2 separate regions of the Homo sapiens genome follow, and region 2 is linked to region 1. The links are contacts of gene promoters, found by promoter capture Hi-C in blood cells and fetal thymus (Javierre and others, 2016). All regions are on one chromosome and are shown on one strand. Each heading gives the region's core, a stretch centred on a gene start or on the middle of the fragment in contact. The rest is flanking DNA. Distances are from core to core; before and after follow the strand shown. Region 1 holds the start of FBXO47 (F-box protein 47). Region 2 has its middle 20 kb from the start of STAC2.

Region 1 (4,492 bases), core at 1,382-3,881:
TTGAACCTGGGAGGCAGAAGTTGCAGTGAGCCGAGATCGCACCATTGCACTCCAGCCTGGGCAACAAGAGTGAAACTCCGTCAAAAAAAAAAAAAAAAAAAGAAGAAAGAAAGAAAAGAAAAGACAAAACTCCACTAGAAAAACTCCTCACTTGCATATCTCAGTAAATGGGATTAACTTCTACCCATTTATTGAAGTCAGAAACCTGGGAATTATTCCTGTCTCCTTCCTTTCCCTTCCTTCCACCCATATCCAATCCATTAGGTAAATTCAGTTACTTCTACCACCAAAATATATCTCAAACCCATCCCTCAGAGCCACCATTCTAGTCCTGCAACATCCTAACAGATCTTACCCTCCACTCTTAGCCTCATTTATTCTCCACATAAAAGCCAGAGCAATCTTTTAATGATGTAAATCAGATCATAGCACTCTCTGCTTAAAACTCTTCAAGGACTTCCCATGACACTTCCCATGACACTTTGAGTAAAAGCTAAATTCTCACCACTAAGGATCCTTGTTTCCATTATGTGCGTCTGGCCCACTGCCAACGGGATGATACTTGGTCAAGGACCTCTAATCAATGTTGGAGACAGGGGGAAAAAAAAGAATTGTCTGCAGCTGGGCACGGTAGCGCAAGCCTGTAATCCCAGCACTTTGGCAGGCTGAGGTGGGTGGATCACCTGAGGTCAGGAGTTCAAGACCAGCCTGGCCAACATGGTGAAACCCCATCTCTACTAAAAAATACAAAAAAATTAGCTGGGCATGGTGGTGGGTGCCTGTAATCCCAGCTACCTGGGAGGCTGAGGCAGGAGAATCACTTGAATCTGGGAGGTGGAGGTTGCAGTGAGCCAAGATCACACCACTGCACTCCAGCCCGGGAAACAGAGGCAGACTTCATCTCAAAAAAAAAAAAAAAAAAAAAAGAATTGGCTGCAAAAGGATACAAAGCCAGGGCTGGGCCCGGTGGCTCACACCTTTAATCCCAACACTTTGGGAGGCAGGCAGATCGCTTGAGCCTCGGAGTTTAAGACCAGCCTGGGCAACATAGCGAAACCCCATCTCTGCTAAAAATACAATGGTGGTGCCCACCTGTGGTCCCAGCTACTGGGTGGCTGAAGCAAGATAATCAATTCAACCCAGGAGGCAGAGGCTGCAGTGAGCCGAGATCGTGCCACTGAACTCCAGCCTGGGCGACTGAGCAAGACTCTGTCTCAAAAAAAAAAAAAAAAAAAAAAAAGGCCAGGAGTGGTGGCTCACACCTGTAATCCCAGCACTTTGCAGTGCTGAGGTACGCAGGTCACCTGAGGTCAGGAAAAAAAAAGATACAAAGCCAAATGGATGAATATATGTGACTATATAAAATAACAGCATGCCAACTAATCCTAAATTTCCACTCAGTCTTTATGTAGTTCCTTATATATTTTGTGTTGGGTATAATGTAGAATTGATCTACAAAAGTAGAATCTTTCCCCCATTCCCTCTTCCCTCAGCCCTTCTCCTGACTGGCTCCTTCTCCTCCATCAGTTCTCAAATCGTCATATCAAAGGGACCTTGAGTATCAGTCTATCTAAAGTAGCTCTCCGCCAACACACACACACCCCATCATTCTGTCTTATTTCCTCTGTCACGCTGCTCTCACCGGAACTGCTCTCAACATCTGTAGATGCTCTGTCTGTTCATTCTATCTTCCCCATTAGGCTAATAAACTCCATTAAAGCAGGAAACGTATCTGTCTTGTTCTCTATTCCATCCTTAGGGCCTACTCCTGTGCCCGGCCCAGAGCAGGCTTCAATAAATAGTTACAGAATGAATGAAGAAATGAATGAATGAGAATTTAATCTTCTAGCCAGGAAGGCCTAGCTAGAAAGATTTGTCTTGATTTCATCTTGAGAGGATGGAGACACACATCTTCCTTTGATTCCAGACAGATTTATTATTTATGTGTTTATTTAGAGACCGGGAGCGGGGTTATGGCTGGGGGTGGGGGTCTCCCTATGTTGCCCAGGCTGGTCTCAAACTCCTGGACTCAAGGGAGCCTCCCGCCTCGGCCTCCCAAAGTGTTGGGATTACAGGCGTGAGCCACCGCACCGGCAAGACAAATTTAAAAAGGAATGTCTGGAGGTTTTTTTCCACCAAAAGGTTTGATGAAACCCCTTGTAACTTGCCCTACTGGAGTCAGTGGGGGTGGGAGGAACTCAAAAATTGTCTCAAAACTAGGTGAAGGGAAAGGCAGTGGAGCAGAGACGTGGCTCGCCACGTTCAGGATCTTGGGCTACACCCTCCCCTTCCCCACACCGTAACGGCTCCAGCCCCTTCTTGTCTTCAGCTTGGAGCGAAGGGTGGCTGAGGCCTGAGTTTGGGCTCCAGGAACCTCGCCCTTGTTAGTTATTCATGAGACGGAGGGCACCATGGGAGCTGGCTCTCTTGCTATTCATAAAGCGGGGAGGCGGGAGGCGGGGGGGAACCTCCTTCCCGCTAGGGCTTCTGGGAAGATCTACAATATTCATGAGGGAGGCGGGCACTACGAGAGCTGAGGCTGCTTGCTATTCATGAGGGGGCGGGCCTCCTTCCCGCGGGGGCTCTTGGGAAGATTCTACAATATTCTAGAGGCCGCGGGGACGCCTGGTGGGTAGGGCTGCAGCTCCGGAGCCTACGGGAGTGTGACCCTCTCGCCTCCTGGCGGGAAGCTCTTGAGGAGATATTTTCTTTTCTAAACACTAAGAAATTTGAGGATGGTGGGGCAAAACGACTAACTCCCACTTTCCTGTGACTCTGTAGCCGGAAAAACTGTCAAAATCTGTGGTAAAAGAGGGTTTTTTTTCCCAGTATTTTATTGCGATAATTTCATCTTTCATGGACTGAAGGGAGCGAAACATGTACCCCGTGTGGTCTGATTCTCCTGTTGACCAGTTTGTCCTTTAGGCTTCCCTAGTTTGCGGCTTTGGAGATGTTTGGGGGCAGCTGCCCGACAGATGGGGTGGGGCCCTTACAAGAGTTTTATGTTAAAACAGACATCCCTGTGAATGTAGTTTTTATCTTAAAGGTGTGGGGGGCGGGGAGGTTCATCCAATTGAACCCTCAAAACCTTTCACGCGCGGTCAAAATTAGTGGGATAGAACAGGGGGCATGAAACATCATTTTATTATTATTATTTGGGGCTGTGATTCTTATTCGCTAGAGGGGTGAGCGGAAACCAGAAATAATTTAGGATTATACCTTTAGAATTTTCACAAAAGCTTGCTTTTTCCCTACGAAACGTCCAGCTCTGAGTGAGGAAAATAAGGAACTATAAGTGGAGACTTGAGTTTTAGAAGAATTTGGGCTTATCATTTTTAAATTTTTGTTTATATTTATTTTAAACATGTATGTAGTTCACAGTTGACACAGTGAAGTCCCCGCCTGGTGACTGACAGTCTTTGAAGAGCCCACGGGCCCAAGCCCCACTGTCCACATTTCTCAGAGAAACAGGAAGAAGCCAAGGCCGGATTTATGCTATTGTAATAAAAATGCTTTAAAACACCTACTGTGTTGGCCGGGTGCGGTGGCTCACGCCTGTAAATCCCAGCACTTTGGGAGGCCGGGGCAGGCGGATCACGAGGTCAGGAAATCGAGACCAGGCTGGCTAACACGGTGAAACCCCGTCTCTACTAAAAATACAGAAATTAGCTGGGCGTGGGGGCGGGCACCTGTAATCCCAGCTACTAGGGAGGCTGAGGCAGGAGAATCGCTTGAACCCGGGAGGCGGAGCTTGCAGTGAGCCGAGATCGCGCCACTGCACTCCAGCCCAGGAGACTGTGCGAAACTCCATCGCAAACAAACAAACAAAACGCCTACTGTGAAAAGTTAAGGTTACAAACAGCCTTATGGATTAAACAAATTAAGATTATTTTACTTGGTGGAATGACACATAGCCATTAAAATATGATTACTTGTAGAAGGTTATTAGCATGGAAAGAGAATTCATTGAAAAAAGCAGATTACAAAGTATTATATATAGTGATCCCTCTTTTTTGTTAAAAAGAAATATATGTATGTAAAAGTCTGAAATTATATAAACCAAAGTGTTTATAAGTGAACTTAATTTTTTTCTTCTTGTTTAGCTGTATTGTGTAAAGTTGTTATTTGTGTAATTATTTTTTTTTTTTTTTGAGGCAGATTCTTGCTCTGTCACCCAGGCTGGAGTGCAGTGGTGTGATCTCGGCTCACTGCAACCTCCGCCTCCCGGGTTCAAGCGATTCTCCTGCCTCAGCCTCCAGAGTAGCTGGGACTACAGTCGCGTGCCACCATGCCCGGCTAATTTTTTTTTTTTTTTTTTTTTTTTAGTAGAGAAGGGGTTTCACCGTGTTAGCCAGGATGGTCTCGATCTCCTGACCTCGTGATCCACCGGCCTCAGCCTCCCAAAGTGCTGGGATTAAGGCGTGAGTCACCATGCCCGGCCTATTTGTGTAATTTTAATGATAATTTTAAAATACCTCCTAATTTAAGTGTT
Region 2 (4,398 bases), core at 358-2,857, 280 kb before region 1:
TCAAAGAGGTTTTTTGTTTGTTTGTTTGTTTTTGAGACGTTTGAGACAGACTCGCTCTGTCACCCAGGCTGGAGTGCAGTGGGGCAATCTCGGTTCACTGCAACCTCTGCCTCCTGGGTTCAAGGGATTCTCCTGCCTCAGCCTCCCAAGTAGCTGGGACCACGGGCACGTGCCAGCACGCCCGGGTAGTTTTTTGTATTTTTTATAGAGATGGGGTTTTGCCATGTTGGCCAGGCTGGTTTTGAATTCCTGTCCTCAAGTGATCCACCTGCCTCAGCCTCCCAAAGTGCTGGGATTACAGGCATGAGCCACTGCGCCTGGCCCCCAAAGAGCCTTTTAGTCTCATTTAGGAGACGGAATATATGCTCAGCACACTCTTATCCCCCTTTATAGGGCCAGCCAGGCACACTCCTCTGCCTCTAAAATCCCTTTTTTCACCACAGCCACAAAGTATGATTCGTCCTTAAAATTCTGGACCACCTGTAAGAGTGAAGCGGGCACAAAGGCAATTTTGTTATTGGAGCCAAAGAGAACAAGCCATGCCATGGAAAAGAAAGCTTAATCTGAGGCAGAAGTGTTAGCGAGGCCTCCGTGGGGATTTGCGACAGGAAATGGCTGCCCTTTATCTGGTCACTGAGGAGAATGAAGATGCCCCCGGTGCCCTGGTGGAAAAGGTGATGGATCTGATTGGCTGGGATGGCCAGAGCTCAGCCAGTTTCCCCATCAGCTCTACAGCACTGAGTTCATCCAGAGAGATCTCTTGATAAAAGTCTGGGGGCATGGGCAACACAGAGGCAGGGGTCAGCAGGGGAAGGGAGTCCAGAGATGTGCCCACAGGAAACCAGGGGTGCCAGGAAGATGGCTATGGGGTGGGGGGAGGAGAAGTAAAGAGGGAAAAGTTGGCTGGGTGTGGTGGCTCATGCCTGTAATCCCAGCACTTTGGGAGGCCGAGGGGTGGATCACGAGGTCAGGAGTTCAAGACCAGCCTGGCCAAGATGGTGAAACCCCATCTCTACTAAAAACTACAAAAATTAGCTGGGCATGGTGGCAGGCTCCTGTAATCCCAACTACTTGGGAGGCTGAGGCAGGAGAATCTCTTGAACCTGGGTGGCAGAAGTTGCAGTGAGCTGAGATCGCGCCACTGCACTCCAGCCTGGGCAACAGAGTGAGACTCCGTCTCAAAAAAAAAAAAAAAAGAAAAAAGTCTACTTCACCTCTCATCCCTCATCTTTTGGGAGGTGTCTGAGGGGAACCCCCAGTTTAAAGACAGGACACCCACATATTAGTGACTGGGACCCAAGTACATAACAAGATGATGTTCTAATCCCATATGCTAATGCAGTGACGATCAGGTGGGGTGGAGGAGTAGAACATGGTGAATAAACCCAAGGAGACATTCTGGAAGGAGAGGGACTAATCTGGTCATGGAAGGTAGGGAAATGCCAAGAAGGGCATCCTGGGTCCCAGGAATGGTGGGGTATCACCATTCCTCTTCTAGGGAGAGGTTTCATGCAGCTACACCTGAATTTCCTATGTTCTGGAGAGAGAGGCCAGAACCTCACCTGAGTCAGGGTTCTTAGGAACCTCGTTCCCTTGCCTAGAGGTCTCCTGAGCCACATACAAAGTCAGTTGGTGACAGATGGGCCTGGGCCAGGAAAACAGTCTATGTATCAGTCTTATACCTGAACTAACAGCTCCCACTTCTAGCCCCCATCCTAGGAGAGATCCCAGCCTCCTCCCAGGTCTCGAGGGAGGGAGGTCACTAAGTAGTTCTTAGGTATTTAACGAATGCTGGACACTAGGGGGAGAAAAAATGGGGAGGAAAAAACCCCACAGACATCTCTATCCCCAGAAATGGAATGAGGCAGGTGGGATGGCCACAGAAGGAGGTCACAGGAGCCTAGCTTTTCACCCCAGCCCTGCCAGCTTTGGGTTGTGACCTCAGACTGGTCACTGTCCTTCTTGGGCCTGAGTTTCTTCTGTAAAAAGAGGGAGTGGGACTAAGTGGTCTTTAAGGTGACTTCTGGCTTAAACATTGTATGAGCCGGGTGCAGTGGCTCACTCCTGTAATCCCAGCACTTTGGGAGGCCAAAGCAGGTGGATCACCTGAGGTCAGGAGTTCAAGACCAGCCTGACGAACGTGGTGAAACCCCGTCTCTACTAAAAATACAAAAAATTAGACGGGCGCGGTGGCAGGCGCCTGTAGTCCCAGCTACTCGGGAGGCTGAGGCAGGAAAATGGCGTGAACCCAGGAGGCGGAGCTTGCAGTGAGCCGAGATAGTGCCACTGCAGTCCGGCCTGGGCAAAAGACTCCGTCTCAAAAAAAAAAAAAAAAAAAAAATTGGCCAGGCATGGTGGCAGACGCCTGTAATCCCAGCTACTCAGGAGGCTGAGGCAGGATAATCACTTGAACCTGAGGCAGAGGTTGCAGTGAGCCAAGATTGCGCCATTGCATTCCAGCCTGGGCAACAAGAGTGAAACTCCATATTAAAAAAAAAATTGTATGAAACATACCTGCTAGCTAAGTTAGTAAGGGCCACTACAGTGGGAAGGGGACCCTGGTTGGCAGTGTCCAGCACCTGGCTCTAAGAGTATTGAAAAGGCGGATCCCATCAGCAGCCCCGCAGATTTGGATAAGGTCCTGGCATGTAAGCTTCAGCAGATCCAGACCTGTAGAGTCAGACAGGGCCAGACTGAGGAAAGAGGCCTGGGATCAAGGGTGGGAAGTAAGGGACACAGTCTATTAGTCTACAAATAGCCCTAGTGTGCTCAGATATGGGAGTCAGGCTTGGATTTAAATGCCAGTTCTGCCACTTGTTAGCTGTGTGTCCTTGGGCAAGTTATTTAACCTCTCTGGGCACTGTCCTCAAGGAATAGTGTATAAATTATATGGGATAATTCGTGAGACGAGAGCCTAGCACAATGCTGGGCAACTCTTAGTCCCCAGTAAATGTTAGTTGAAGGGCCCACAACAAGCCAGGACAGAGACAGGCTTCCTGCCTGTGTGTCCCACCCACTCTCAGTCCCCTACAGGTCTGGCTCCTGCCAGACACTAGCCTCACCAGTGAAGTTGGCCAGCATCCGGCAGTAGCTGGAGAACCAGTGCTGATGCAACCATTGCTGTGTCTCTGAGATGGGGGCTTTTTGGTTCAGATCCTGAGGTATAAAATGGATGGTCCAGGTAATACCAGGACCCAGGGACAGAACAAGAAAGGGAAACAGCCCCTCCCTTGGGAGGTCCCAAGTCTGAGAAGGGAGGCTCTTCCTGCCCAGTCTTATCAGGTAAGTTACAATCTATGGCCATATCACATCTGGCCACCAGGGGGCAGGGCCACTCCATTCTGGAGCTTGAGATGAAGCTGCGGAGAAGGCTTTGGGACAGTGGAGAGTGGGAAGGGGAAGGCTCACCTCAACTGGGCTACACCCCAAGGTATCCAGAGCGAATGGTGGTGAGGAACAGAGCCTATGAGGAGGAGCAAAGGTTCAAGAACTCTGCGGAGCATTACAGCCAGTCTCCCTCCACCAACACCCTTCCTCCAGGCCTGCCCTGGGACACAGAGCTTGCTCCTGTCCTCACCCCACAAATTCCCCACCAATCCCCAGCCCTGCCCTTTGCTCCATGCCTGGGCTGGGAGCTCTTTTCTTCACTCTCACCCCAAAGGGCTGACAGGAGGTGCTCATCCTGCCTCACCTTTCTGGGGACAAGAGCCTGCAGGAGTGGGGAGAGGTCAGAGCCAGAGAGCTGAGAGGTGGCCGGGGCCTTGCAGGGGACTCCGGCCATGGCGAACACTGCAGGCAAACACACAGCAAGGCTGGTCATTGCTCCCTTCTCTCCACCTGTATATTAAGAGCTGACCAGGGGCCTGACAAGTGGACTGGGTTTCCACAGGAAGGAAGAAGTTAACCACCCGGCGGGCCTGGGGCAGTGAGGAAGGGCCTTGGAGGAGCTGGCCAGGAGGAGCAGCAGGAGGAGGAGGGGGCCAGGCAGAGGGAGCACACAAGGAAGGAGGTGGCGATGGCCCGCGTAGGACAGGCAGCCTGGAGGGCGTCAGCTCCTGGAAGCTTCAACAACCACAGACAGGGCAGAGAGTGTCCTTTGCAGGAAGTGGTGGAGTCCCCAGGGGGCTGTGATGGGCTTGCAGCAGTCAGAGCCCTGGAGGCCTCCATTTCCCCATCTGTACCGTGAGGATCTTTTCTCCAACTCTCCCCTCCTGCTCTCGCCCCAACACACACACCTCCAAGAAGACAGTGCTCTCGCAGGCGGTCTGATACTTGTCCCTCTCATGCAGGGGCTGTTTCTCCATCTTCTCACGGTCCATTTTCAGTTTCCGCTCCTTTGTGCTGCAGGAGGATGATGAGGAAAGCCTCAGGCTCCTTTCTTTTCTTTTTTTTTTTTTT

Evidence for each region. The method cuts DNA at HindIII sites, captures the fragments that hold promoters and counts their contacts. A CHiCAGO score of 5 or more calls a contact.
Region 2: a contact is called between a fragment that was not itself captured here and the fragment with the promoter of FBXO47 in region 1, in 2 of 17 cell types (activated CD4 T cells and naive B cells). The highest score is 6.1, in activated CD4 T cells.

What each region holds. Positions count from the first base shown.
Region 1 is chr17:38,965,542-38,970,033 of GRCh38, reverse strand. It overlaps FBXO47 (F-box protein 47), which reads left to right and starts at 2,631. Exons shown (of 11, transcript NM_001008777.3): 1 at 2,631-2,805. The HindIII fragment of the contact is 5,025 bases long and covers 1-3,241 here.
Region 2 is chr17:39,243,848-39,248,245 of GRCh38, reverse strand. It overlaps the pseudogene LOC101929578. Among named protein-coding and RNA genes, the nearest start is that of STAC2, 20 kb to the right of the region's middle. RefSeq lists an enhancer at 3,318-3,892. The HindIII fragment of the contact is 2,096 bases long and covers 560-2,655 here.